Linked DNA regions of Homo sapiens: region 1 is linked to region 2. Evidence: promoter capture Hi-C in human tissues and cell types (Jung and others, 2019). All regions are on one chromosome and are shown on one strand. The core of a region is centred on a gene start or on the middle of the fragment in contact, and the rest is flanking DNA. Distances in the headings are between cores, read along the strand shown. Region 1 holds the start of SMCO3 (single-pass membrane protein with coiled-coil domains 3). Region 2 holds the start of MGP (matrix Gla protein).

What was found. The method cuts DNA at HindIII sites, captures the fragments that hold promoters and counts their contacts. A contact is called where the count stands out against the background at its distance.
Region 1: a contact is called between the fragment with the promoter of SMCO3 here and the fragment with the promoter of MGP in region 2, in 1 of the 25 tissues and cell types used here (adrenal gland).

The regions. Positions count from the first base shown.
Region 1 is chr12:14,812,328-14,818,740 of GRCh38, forward strand. SMCO3 (single-pass membrane protein with coiled-coil domains 3) reads right to left here and starts at 1,855. Exons shown (of 2, transcript NM_001013698.2): 1 at 1,799-1,855. The region is part of intron 1 of C12orf60 (chromosome 12 open reading frame 60); the gene reads left to right. The HindIII fragment of the contact is 14,769 bases long and covers 1-6,413 here.
Region 2 is chr12:14,884,272-14,890,599 of GRCh38, forward strand. MGP (matrix Gla protein) reads right to left here and starts at 1,583. Exons shown (of 4, transcript NM_000900.5): 1 at 1,460-1,583. The coding sequence starts at 1,520. The HindIII fragment of the contact is 8,639 bases long and covers 1-5,523 here.

The DNA.
Region 1 (6,413 bases), core at 605-3,104, 72 kb before region 2:
CAGCTACTTGGGAGGCTGAGGCAGGAGAATGGCATGAGCCTGGGAGGCAGAGCTTGCAGTGAGCCGAGATTGTGCCACTGCACGCCGGCCTGGGTGACAGAGGGAGACTCCGTCTCAAAAAAAAAAAAAATTTTATTGGTTACGTATACTATTCCCTGTCTTTACCCTGGTTCAATAAATCTAAAATTGTTTCACTATCACTAATATTCTAATGAGCATTTTGATACCCACAGATTTTTTTTCCTCCATTATCTGGATTATTTCCTCAGCATAAGTACCTAGAAGAATTACATAATTAGTGGCATAAGTAATGGGAATTAAATTTTTATTACTTTTGATATGTATCGTAAATTGCATTCCAAAAGCTTTTACTGTGCTACCCCAAATAAATTTTTATAGCAGGATACTGGGTATCCTGCTATAAAATTTTTACAATTTTTATTTTAGATTCAGGAGGTACATACACAGGTTTGTTCCCTGACTATACTGTGTGTTGCTGAGGTTTACTGTGAATGATCCTGTCACCCAGATACTGAGCATAGTGCTGGTATATTTCCCAGTCAAAGATGGTCCTGTTTAAATATTGTTGATTTGGGAAGAGTAAGGTTAAATTTCAAAAAGAGAAGTTCTTGCCTATTTGGAAATACATACTGAAAACATTTAAGATGAAATGAAATGGTCTCAGAGATTTGTTCACAAATAATCTGGAAAGAATAGTGGGGTAGGGTTATAGAGGAAAAAAGATTGGCCTTGTTTTGATAATTTTTAAAGCTGAGTTATGGGTACATGGGAGTTTATTATATTATTGTCTCTACTTCTGTGTATGTTTGAACTTTTCTTATAACAAATAAAAAAGAAAGAAAAAGAAAAACGTGACCCTGTCTAAACCTCTGATGTTTAGTCGTTAGTGCTCTCTGAGGTTTTACATTTCTTCTTGCTGTCACTTTTCTTCACTGTCCAAACAGGGTTTTGCCATCATGCACAGTTTCCTTATCTGGGAGTGTGGAAATAGGGTATAGGTAAAATCAGGAGCTTTTCAGAAGAAAATAACAGCTTCTAACTAGTTCTGAGTCTCCTTTAATTCAAATAAAAATCTGTGGCCTTTAATTAAAACAAAAATTGATCATGATGTGATGATATACTTTCTGATATAAATTCATTTAAAAAATGTTTCTGACCAGAAAGAAGAATATTAAAGTCATTCATCAGCATTTATCAAGTGCTCACTGGTGAAGCCTCTACTGTGTCCCTTGAGGCATTTGAAAACGACAATGTTCCTTGCCCTCAAGACGATAACAGCCTGTTTGGAGACACACAGCAAATGCTCAGAGATATTTAGATACAACATAATTTATGAAGGAGTATAAGTACTATACATTAACCAGTATTAGATTCCACATTCATTCTTTCATAGATAGGTACTGAGTGCCTATATTAATATTAATGACATAGAAGGAAATGTTACTATCCATGTAAACTTCACACATTCACACAGGTATCATTTCATCCTTAATCCTTCTTAGAATTGATGTCTTTACTGCTTCTCTTCCACTCTGACTTAATCAGTCCTAGAAATTGTTAATTTTCTTCCTTCTCTGCTGTCTTCAGAGAAGGCACCAGGAAAGGTTCCTTCCAAATCACAAGGAACATGTCATGGGATCCTCTTATAACAAAGCTGTTTTTTTACTTTATTTTATTTATGGTTAGGATTCAAGACTGACGGGCTAATTCAAATTCCTCCTACTACTGAGAAACAGAGTATTATATCAATACTAATAGAAATATCCACGTTGCTTACCTTGCTGTGTTTCTGAGTTCCGTGGTCCTAGCAGTTGTTTAGGAGTATTGTTAAAGTGCTTTTTCATCTGGTTTCATCTGGATATTTCTGATGGAATGTGATGACTTACAGACTTTGCTAGTCTCTGCTGGGTCCCTCTGCCTGTCTGGTTTATAGGCTATTTCTACATGGCTTGGCCCTCAGAATTCCTTCATTTCCTATTAATAAAAACTTAGTATACAGTATTAAGTTATATAAACTGGAAGACTAATAGTGTGTAAAACTTATTTTTAAATTTCTGTTCTTTAATGGACTTTTTATTGTTGAGAAGCGCTATATAACTGAGCTAATTCAATTTAGTAGAGAAGATGGCTCTTTGATTGCAGCTCTCAGATTTTGGGGTTTTATCTTGTCAACTATTCCAGATACTAAGTTTCTTTTAGCTTCTGTTGCATTTGCACCTCTAACTGTTGCTGATTATTTAAATTCTCAAGATATATAAATGCAGTTACTTGCATCCAATTTTTTTTTCTCTTCTTTCCAGCTAGGAGTTCTCCTCTTTGTCATTCTTTCTCTTCCTGTGTTTGTAAATTGTCTTGACAATATAAAAACCTTAAAGTCCAACTTCACTCTTTTCCCTGAAAGCTCAGATCAGTCTTCCCTGCTGCTTCTTCCCAGCTTCAGTCTTCAGACCCGTTAATTCCTCCACAGCAAAGACACCTGAGTGGCAGGGAAATCACTCAGCCCCAGTGTAACTTAGTGAAAGACAGCAGGCTTTACACTCAGACAGTCCTGGTTTTGTGTACTCCAAGTACCACTTACTAGTCATGTAATCCTAAGAAAGTCACTTAGCCTGAGTTTTCCCATTGGTGTAATATGAGTATTAGTTAATAATTTATGGATTAAATGGGATAGTGTTTATAAAGTAATTGGCATAGTGGCTGATATGTGGCAAAATCTTATGAAACGGTAGCTATTCATATATTAACAACAGTATCTCCTGGTGGAGGGGAGAGGAGAATGGGTGGGTACAGGATACAGAATCAAAATGCCAGACAGGCAGACAGGAAACTTTAAAATCTAAAGATGCTGCCCTGTGATTCTAAAGAAGGGCTAAGTGGGGTCACTTTTCTACTTTTGTCCCAGTGGATCATCTTGCCCTTGATGTATCCAGGGCCCCACCACGTACGGATGTGTGGCCAGTGTATCTGAACTAGGTATGGATGTTAAGTAGGATTTTAATAGATGTTTGGGGAGGATGGTGGTATAGAGGAAATAATACAGATAGAGGGAACACTGAGAGCAAAGGAGCTGAACCAAAAATTGTAGAACATTTTCAGGGAACAAAAACCAACCTGCTGGTGATACAGGGTGTAAGTGGGAGCAGTTAAGGGAAGGTAAGTCATGGAAAATTGAAAATAGTTTGTAGATAGCCTTAGATGTCATGCTAGGAAATTGTATTTCATTCTGTAGATAATAATGAACCATTAAAAAATCCTTTTAATTATGGTGTAATATTTGGAGATTTGGATTTCAGGAAGGGTACATTATGTAAACTTGATTAGTAGGTATGGACAATAAAGCATAAGTTACCAACCCCATTGCCTACAGTATGTGGACAAAATATGTCTGTCTTTTACCCTGTCTTAAAACAGTTGCATTTTGTTTCCGAAGAGGCTATTGTTGAAGAGTACCATTTAACCCACTTGTTCCTAAGGTGTTTGTTTCTCTCCTATTTCTACCCTTCTTAACATTTATTGCCTACTCATCCACTCCTTTCTCTCCTACCACATAGCAGCCTAAGTGGAGTTGCCAAAATTAAGGATAAACAGTAACAATGCAAAATAATTATCAGAGAAAAACTAGAAGCAATATTGACTTCATACTGAGCCCCCTAATCAACTTGAACTTCTTTTTTCTGCAATCAGTTTCTCAGGTTGAAAACTTGAACTTCTTAAATCTTTCTTGACTACTAAAGCCAGTATTAACGTCAAGTCAATAGTCAGAACTGAACCTTAGGAAGGAGGCACATTTTCTTAGTGTAGATCTTGGAGTCAGGGTGGTTTTAGGGAATCAGGAAGGCTGATTTGACAAGTTTCACTGCTGGATTGACAGTGGTGGGAAATGAGAGTGAAAGCAATAATATCTCCAAACTTATCTGCATGTAGCTCTCACTTGATCGTCTTTTATTTAGAATGCTTTATTTTCCCTTTTATCCTAAAGCTCATCCCCTTCTTTTCCTAAAATCTCTGCTCAAAAACCATATATTACATGACCCTGAATAAACTGCCCGATTCAATTACGATTGTTTCAACAATTTGCCAGCACTTATGAATGCTGCACTTAAAAAAAAATCAAGCAAACCTAAAAATAATCACCTTTTTGACCCAATAGCCTCCTTTATCTTTCTTCTTCACAGTTAGACTTCCCAGTTTGGTAGTGTACATGCATTGCCTCTACTTCATTTTCTCCATTAATTTTCCAGTATTTATAATCTAGCTTCTGTACATATTCCTGCCTCTTGCAAAATTGCTTTTCTAGCATTGTCAATGACATTGTAATGACTAAACATAAGAAATAATTTACAGTGTTTATCATACTTGCAGCATTTGAAATTGCTGATCAGGTCTTTATATTTTCTCTTTTTTTTTTTTTTTTGAGACAGAGTCTCACTCTGTCACCCAGGCTGGAGTGCAGTGGTGCCATCTTGGCTCACTGCATCCTCCGCCTCCCAGGTTCAAGCAATTCTCCTCCCTCAGCCTCCCGAGTAGCTGGGATTACAGGCGTGTGCCACACCCAGCTAATTTTTGTATTTTTTAGTAGAGACGGGGTTTTGCCATGTTGGGCAGGCTGGTCTCCAACTCCTGGCCTTAAGTGATCTGCCTACCTCAGTCTCCCAAAGTGTTGGGATTACACTAAAATAAAATACTTAAATATAAATCTAAGAATATATGAGCCACCATGCCCGGCCAATTTATCGTTTTTTCTTTAATGGATATGCTTTTGGTGTCATACATATCAAAGGACTAATCAGCTAACCAAAAGTTACAAGATTTTCTTCTGTATTTTCTTCTGTTTTATGGTTTTATATTTTTCATGTCCCATTTTGAGTTAATTTATGTATGTGTATGGTATGACATAAAATCAAGGTTTATGTTTTTGCATATGGGTATCAGGCTTTTCCAGCACCATTCATTGAAAAACCCTAAACTTTCTTTTTTTGTTGTTGTTCTTTCTTTGTTTTTTGTTTTTATTTATTTCTTCCAAAACAAAAGGGAGGATACATGTGCAGAATGTGCAGGTTTGTTACACAGGTATACATGTGCCATGGTGGTTTGCTGCACCTATTGACCCATCCTTTAAGTTCCCTCCCCTCGCCCCCCACTCCTCAACTGGCCCTGGTGTGTGTTGTTCCCTTCTCTGTGTTCATGTGTTCTTATTGTTCAACTCCCACTTATGAGTGAGAACACGTGGTGTTTGGTTTTCTGTTCCTGTGTTAGTTTGCTGAGGATGATGGCTTCTGGCTTCATCCATGTCCCTGCAAAGGACATGATCTCATTCCTTTTTATGGCTGCATGGTATTCCATGGTGTATATGTAACACATTTTCTTTATGCAGTCTATCATTGATGGGCATTTGGGTTGGTTCCATGTCTTTGCTGTTGTAAATAGTGCTGCAATAAACATACATGTGCATGTGTCTTCATAGTAGCATGATTTATAATCCTTTGGGTATATACCCAATAATGGGATTGATGGGTCAAATAGTATTTCTGGTTCTATATCCTTGAGGAATTGCCATACTATCTTCCACAATGATTGAACTAATTTACATTCCCACTAACAGGGTAAAAGCATTCCTATTTCTCCACACCCTTGCAAGCATCTGTTGTTTCCTGACTTTTTAATAATCTCCATTCTGACTGGCATGAGATGGTATCTCACTGTGGTTTTGATTTGCATTTCTCTGATGATCTGTGTTGTTGAGCTTTCTTTTTTATACATTTGTTGGTCGTGTAAAGATCTTCTTTTGAGAACTGTCTGTTCATATCCTTTGCCCATTTTTTGATAGGGTTGTAAATTTGTTTAAGTTCCTTGTAAATTCTAGATATTAGACCTTTATCATGTAGGTAGATTGCAAAAAATTTCTTTCATTCTGTAAGTTGCCTGTTCACTCTGATGATAATTTCTGTTGCTGCGCAGAAGCTCTTTAGTTTAATTAGATTCCATTTGTCAATTTTGGCTTTTGTTGCAATTGCTTTTGGCATTTTTGTCATGAAGTCTTTGCCCATGCCTATGTCCTGAATGGTATTGCCTAGGTTTTCTTCTAGGGTGAAAACACCTAAACTTTCTATGTTAAATTGCCTTTGCATCTTTGTTAAAAATCAGTTGACCGGCCAGGCACAGTGGCTTATGCCTGTAATCCCAGCACTTTGGGAGGCTGAGGCAGGCAGATCATGAGGTCAGGAGATGGAGACCATCCTGGCCAACTTGGTGAAACCTCTTCTCTACTAAAATACAAAAAATTTAGCTGGACATGGTGGTGTGTGCCTGTACTCCCAGCTACTTGGGAGGCTGAGGCAGGGGAATGGCTTGAATCTGGTTGGGGGCGGAGGTTGCAGTGAGCTGAGATTGCG
Region 2 (6,328 bases), core at 333-2,832:
ATATCAATATTTATCCATGATTCATTATGTTATTATTTATCAATTTAGACACTGTGATAGTTTAAATACAGGGATGGAAGAAGAGGAAAGAGTCTAAAAACATGAAGAATATATTTAGCAGTGTGGTTATTAGAAATTTCAGGAATTTAGGATTTATGAGGTTTTTCTCTAGCTCTGGCCTTGCTGTGGATATCTCTATATTTTAGTTTCTCTGATGTTGAAGGAGGGAGTGGCCATTTTCAGCTAAAATTTCCCAAGGGCTATGACGTCTTCAGACAAGCAAAATAAGACACTTTAAGTGCTGTACAGAAGTCTCCAGAGAACCTTCTTCTCTGATTTATTCAGAGCCTGTTTGAGAACAGGGTCAAAGAGGATTAAGAAGGATCCAGAAGACAGCCAGGTTTCTCCAGGCAAGAGAACTACAGGGCAGTTGCTCTGCTGGGCTTACTAGGGCAGGTTTCTAAGAGGGTTCCGAAAGCCTCTTAAGAACCTGTGTTAAATTGGCAGCCACAGAAACCACTAGCTCCAGCTGACAGCTCACCCTGGGCACGATGCCAGTTCAGAGAGAGAACTGAAACGATATCAAAGCCGAAGTTTTCTTCTTTCTGCCACTCTCCTGAGCACAGCAGATAAATTTTGGAATAAGAAGCTTCTATTAATATTTGCCAGCAAGTGAATTTTCTTCAAAACTTAAAAAGGAGGTGAAGAAATCAAATCCTCTAATACAGAAAATTTGTGAATACAAGAGTGAGAAGCATAATCTTTATGGTTGTTAATGTAATTTAAATTTTAAAACAATGAAAATATCTAGGTAATTGAAACAAAAGACTGAAATAAGTAAATAACTTTGCTTCAGATTTCCTTTTATAAGCTTTGAACAAATGCAGGTATATTTAATGACATATAGAAAACAGGCAAAATTTATTTTCTGACAACAGGAGTTATGAAAATGATTCTTTTCTAAAATTCTTTTGATGTAAAACTTTATTTTAAAATTAATTAACTGAACAAACATAGTAAGTTCATGAGATTGTCCAGTCCCTAGAAAGGGCTATACTTAATACTTCACATAAAAATGGATTTTCTCAAAGGCAAGTGGTTTAAACAATACCCTTAACCCATTGATACCAAAGTCTAAATAAATATCCTTAAAAATGAGGATGCAGGGGGCTGGGAATTTGGTATCTTCTTTCTGAAATATGAGTTTCTAGATATACAGAGACTTACCACTGAACGGGTTTGCCTGTTAAGTTGCATAAGACTCTGGATATTTAGGATATAAAAAAGACTTAATAGAACAGATCAGTTTCTGCGGAGACTGGGAAATGTGAAAGTAATGGTACTTTAAGATTATAACAGAGAAAGGGGGAAGAAGAGGAGGAGGGAGAGGAAAAATAGAAGTAAGCCAAAGTCAGAGGCAGAAAAGTAAACACAGAGAAATGGGAGAAAAGTTTCTCACCATAACACAAAGTTACTACCGCTAAGGCGGCCAGGATGGCAAGAAGGATCAGGCTCTTCATGGTTTCGTCCTGCAGGTCAGTCTCAGGGTCTTGTGTAGCAGCAGTAGGGAGAGAGGCTCCTACGGGATGTTAGTGGAAGGCTGTGAGGTTTTTATAAGAACCAGAGCAGTTGAGAGGGGAGGAACCAGTGGGAGAGAGCTGGAGAAGGTGGGGAAGGGTTGGCACTGAACTAGCATTGGAACTTTTCCCAAACAGTCATTCCTTCCAGATATTATCTACTCTGAGTGGGCAGTTTTCCCTAACTGCTGGACCTGACTGTGTTACACAGGATGCTGCTCTGGTGCAGAAGTTTTGGCCATCGTATGCTTGGGGACAGACCTGGGCAAAAGCCCACAGAGGAAGTTGCCACAAACACATGATCTACCCTCCTGGCCCTGACCGCAGGGCTTTTGGGTTTGGTCCACAGACAGAGCCCTAGTGTTCTGTTTGTTACCCTGATTGATTGATGAGAGGTTTTGGGGGAGAAAGGACTTCACTTTCTTTTCTTTTCTTCTTTTTAACCTTTGCCTCTTCTTCTAGGAGAACTTCGCTTTCTACACTGATTATAATTTAGACATCTTCCCAGTAGGGCTGAATCCTAGACCAATCTATCAATCCCAGACTAATCAGGCATTTGCCTGGGGATATGCATCTTTGGCATTTTTCCAAGGGTTCATCAGGATGGAGATATCCGGTGCACCATGAGTTCTGTTTCCTTAATCAACACCGTTGTAACTTGCCCATCCAGTTTTGTGACATTAATTCAAACCTGTGCCCTAGTCCTCTTTTAGGCAGCGTATCAGTGCTGGAAAGTGCAGCAAGGATAAGAGGGTACTGTTCTCTCATTTCTGAGGGCGTTGTCTCGATAATTAACTAACTTGATAGACTTTTTAGTGAGTGGCAGGTGAGATGCAAGGTACTGTGCTAGGTGCTGTGGGGGATGTACAGACAAACAACACACCTCCCTAAGGAGGTAAGTAATAGCTACTTACTATTCACTTTGCTCTTTCACTGTAATGTATCCTCAAGCACAGGTTTTCACTACACCATCAGGCCCAGAAGTACTAGCTTATTTTCCACAGGAGGATTTCAGTTTGATGCCTCTGGTTATCTTGTATAGAGAGGTCTTTTCTTTCTTTCTTTTTTTCCCCCTTCTTTTGCAATCACAAAATCTGTCCTACCAGATGTGCCTCTCTTGCTTGGGAACCCAATAGTTTTCTTTGCAGACAACAGACTTGAAGTCACAGAGCAGCAGATTGTAGAAGAGCTACAGCTTCGGGACCTCTGACTCTTGAGCTGGAACAGCAATAGGGCTGGGTTGGGGGTGGGGTGGATGTGTCTTTCAATACTGATGTATTTCAAGGAGCAGTGATGAACTAGGTGGAGCCTCATGCTTCATTCTTTTTGTCTTGTTGGGATGGAGTTTCCCTCCCACCCTCCATCCTGTGAAGAGCTTTTATAAATATTAACAGAGTCCCCATTAAAAGAAATAGCTCCTTTGAAATCTGAAAGATTGAGTTCTGAGGGATCAATAAAATTCAAGTTTTCTCTCCAAAACCTAAGAAATAGATTATCTGTGCGAAAATCTTAAAGAAAATCTCAGAAAGAAGACCGTGTATGTTCATCCTTGATAAATTCAACCATCACAATTTCCACTAATGAGACTGGCGGTTGTTCCACTCTTTAAACCACAACCTACTATGAGTGTTAGTTTCAGTGTCCATCTTGGAAGATGAATCATCTGAATCATTACATGATCAATGAATAATTTAAAGTGCGAAAGCCAGTTCACTATATTGCATGACTTTGGGGGGACAAGCTAGCCATAGATAAAAGTTTTATACGTACTTAGCTTAGTAATTAACCACCAATTAATATAACATCAAACAAGTTGAATTCCAATGTTTCACCCTTAAAATGAGTAGTCTACTCTCCCCATCCCCACTCCATCTCCAGAATTAAAGAGAAATCTTCCCATTTTCCTGCTATAAATATGTGCTTTGCAATGTACATTAGCTCTGTCTTTTCCAGCCAAGTCATAGATGTCTCCTTTATCCCCAAGTTCAAATGACAACTATAATCTTTCAACCTCTGACATCACAATTGTTTTTTTATTTTTACACTCCCAGAAACTAAACTTGAAAATCCTACACTTCTCATTTCAACTTAAGGTTCACCTTTTGTTCACCTTAAATCACTGCTTCCACTGGATTCCCTAAACTTAAGCATTTCTCTTTATCGTCTTGGTTTTTGTAAGGCTAACTTTCTTTTGGGAGCTGTGTCTCTTCGGTCCCTCATCTGCCTTTCCTGTCCATTGCTCTCCCATCTATTTCTGGTTCTTCTCTGCAAAATCCCATTTATATATGATATGTAAAAATTATTAACATGTCTGAGAATCCAGAGCTCTTCTTTTTCTCCTCTGTCACCTTACTCCCCATTTCAAAGACAACTTTGTGAATGCCAACTCCAGTCATATGTTTTTATGATGAGGACTTGGACTAACGCATGAAGCAGGGATGGGAGCTTTGCATTAGAAAGGACCAAGATTGACTCATCTGAGAGAAGACAGAAGAAAAGAATGGAAGTAGGAAAAAAAAAAAAACGGAGAAGGGGAAATGAGAAGAGCCTTACCAATTTGGTTTGCTGGGTGAGTTTTAGGTAGAGACTGAGTGACAGAGAAAAACGGAGGCAGTTGTAGAAGGTGAGACATATTAAAAGCGAGACATGGGAACAGAGAAATAAAAGTTGCTTTGGTTAGGAATAGCATTGTTTGAGATTGCAGAATACTGTCTGAAAATTTTCAGAAAATATTGAAATTTGAACAAATTAATTTTGCCAGCTAGTTTGCATTTTCTTAATTGGGATATCTTGTCAAGACGAGACCACATGAAACTCTAAATTCTAATTAGATTTTAGATAATTATGAAAGACACTTATATAGACATTTTCCCTTAACAAAAAAGAAGTGTTATTCAGAGGAGAGAATATTTGAAGAAACTCCCAGAAGTGATAACAGAAATATGAGACAGTGATATGATTGCCAGTTTTTAAACATGTGTAGGATTCTCCTCATGTGAGGTTGGCAACGTAGGAACTGAAGCAAGAGAAGCCATGGAGTAATACAGATCTCCTATTCCACCTACTCTCAGGCAGAAAAGAGAAGAATGACCATGCCTGTCAGGGCCAGAAGGAGCTTCATGATTTCATAATTCTCCCATCCATCCATCCATCCATCCAGCCAGCCAGCCAGCCAGCCATCCATCAAGTTATCTATCTAGCCAACAAATGTACTGAGCATCTACTGTTTGTCAACTCTAGGCTGGAAATACAGTAGAGAAAAATACAGATATGGGCCCTGTCCTCATGCATCAAGTGTGCTCTTTGAACAAAAATTTAATAGTGGCTCCTCTTATTTAAAAAATTGTTAGGCAGCCAACTGGCCTTAAAGGAGACCAAGTGATGAGCTTTCTCACTGGGCTGACCATTCTTATGGGCACTCAGGAGCATCTCTGTTTCCAAAGCATCAAGAAAGGTGCTAGTGACCAGCTCAGATAATTCTGAATTTAGGGAGGGAATGCAGGAGAGGAACATTGGCAGAGCTTCTGAGAATTACTGTGGGGAGAAGCTTCTCAGAAAAGTATATTTGCCAGAGAATATACCAAAAGAGTTATCCCTTTCACATGGTATTTCTGTGACTAAAATAATGGCATAGAGGTAGAAAGTGTAATATATTTCCCTATCAATTCTACCTCCTTCTCTTTCTGTCCTTGCTTATCCTTTAACTAACTCTTTTTCAGATGGCTAGGCATTTTGTCTCTTTGAGGAATTTTCCTGGCTCCAGTCAGATTTCTTTTTCTTTTTTGCTGTTCCATGAAATTCAGCTTTATTTACTGAATTTTGATTTTATAATTTTTTTTAAACTGGCAGCACTAAAGTCCTTACCCTTGCCATTAAAGGAAAAACGCAAATGAAAGAAGAGTTAGGAAGAAGCAGCCCTGAAGACAAAAACAGAAATCACTCTCTAGGACATCAAAGAACAATGAACTAGGAGACAGAAGCCCAGCCAATGTCGTGGGACAGTGCCATGCTCTTAGTTCTTTTCTTTTAAGGGAAGCCCCTTGAGAGGATTCTGTGTGTCAGATTCTTTAACTGACATAACTTCCTAGGCACAGATAGAATCCTTCTTTCCTTTCCTTAATTTGTCTTAGTTGAACTAAGTAAGAATAAATGTTTGTCAAACTCAGGCATGGGAGGAGCATCTGGGGACTCATGGGCTGAAACTTCCAGGGAAAGTTGGAGGTGCCTGATTATTAAACAAAATAAAGGTGGAGAAGTCTGAGAGGTGGAGAGCTTTTGGCTGGGAATGGCTGGGATTTTTCTTTTCCTCCCCTATCGATTATTTCCTCCACCCTTCTTAAGAAAAGCTTCAATTTTTAAATAAGATAGCAAATATCAAATAAAAATTATACATCTATCCAAGCGCTATTATCATATGTCAAATGCTTGCTATATATTAGATGCTCTGATAGTCACTCTTTATTTTTTATTTACTTCTCTTAATAATCCTATAAGCTAAGTATAATGACCCACATCTCATATATAAGAAAATGGAAGCTCAAAGAGGTAAAATAGTTTATCCAAGATCACACAACAACTAAATGGCAAAGACAGGATTAAAACGCAGGACTGTTTGATGTCAAATCGTGTGTTTTTAATAATGATACAACCATGTGAGATCCCTCCAGGTTCTGACACCTGCTTAAATAATTTTGTGATTGCGTCTTACAGGGTTCCTTGAATTTCAAATTTCATAGCTAGAGACAAAATTA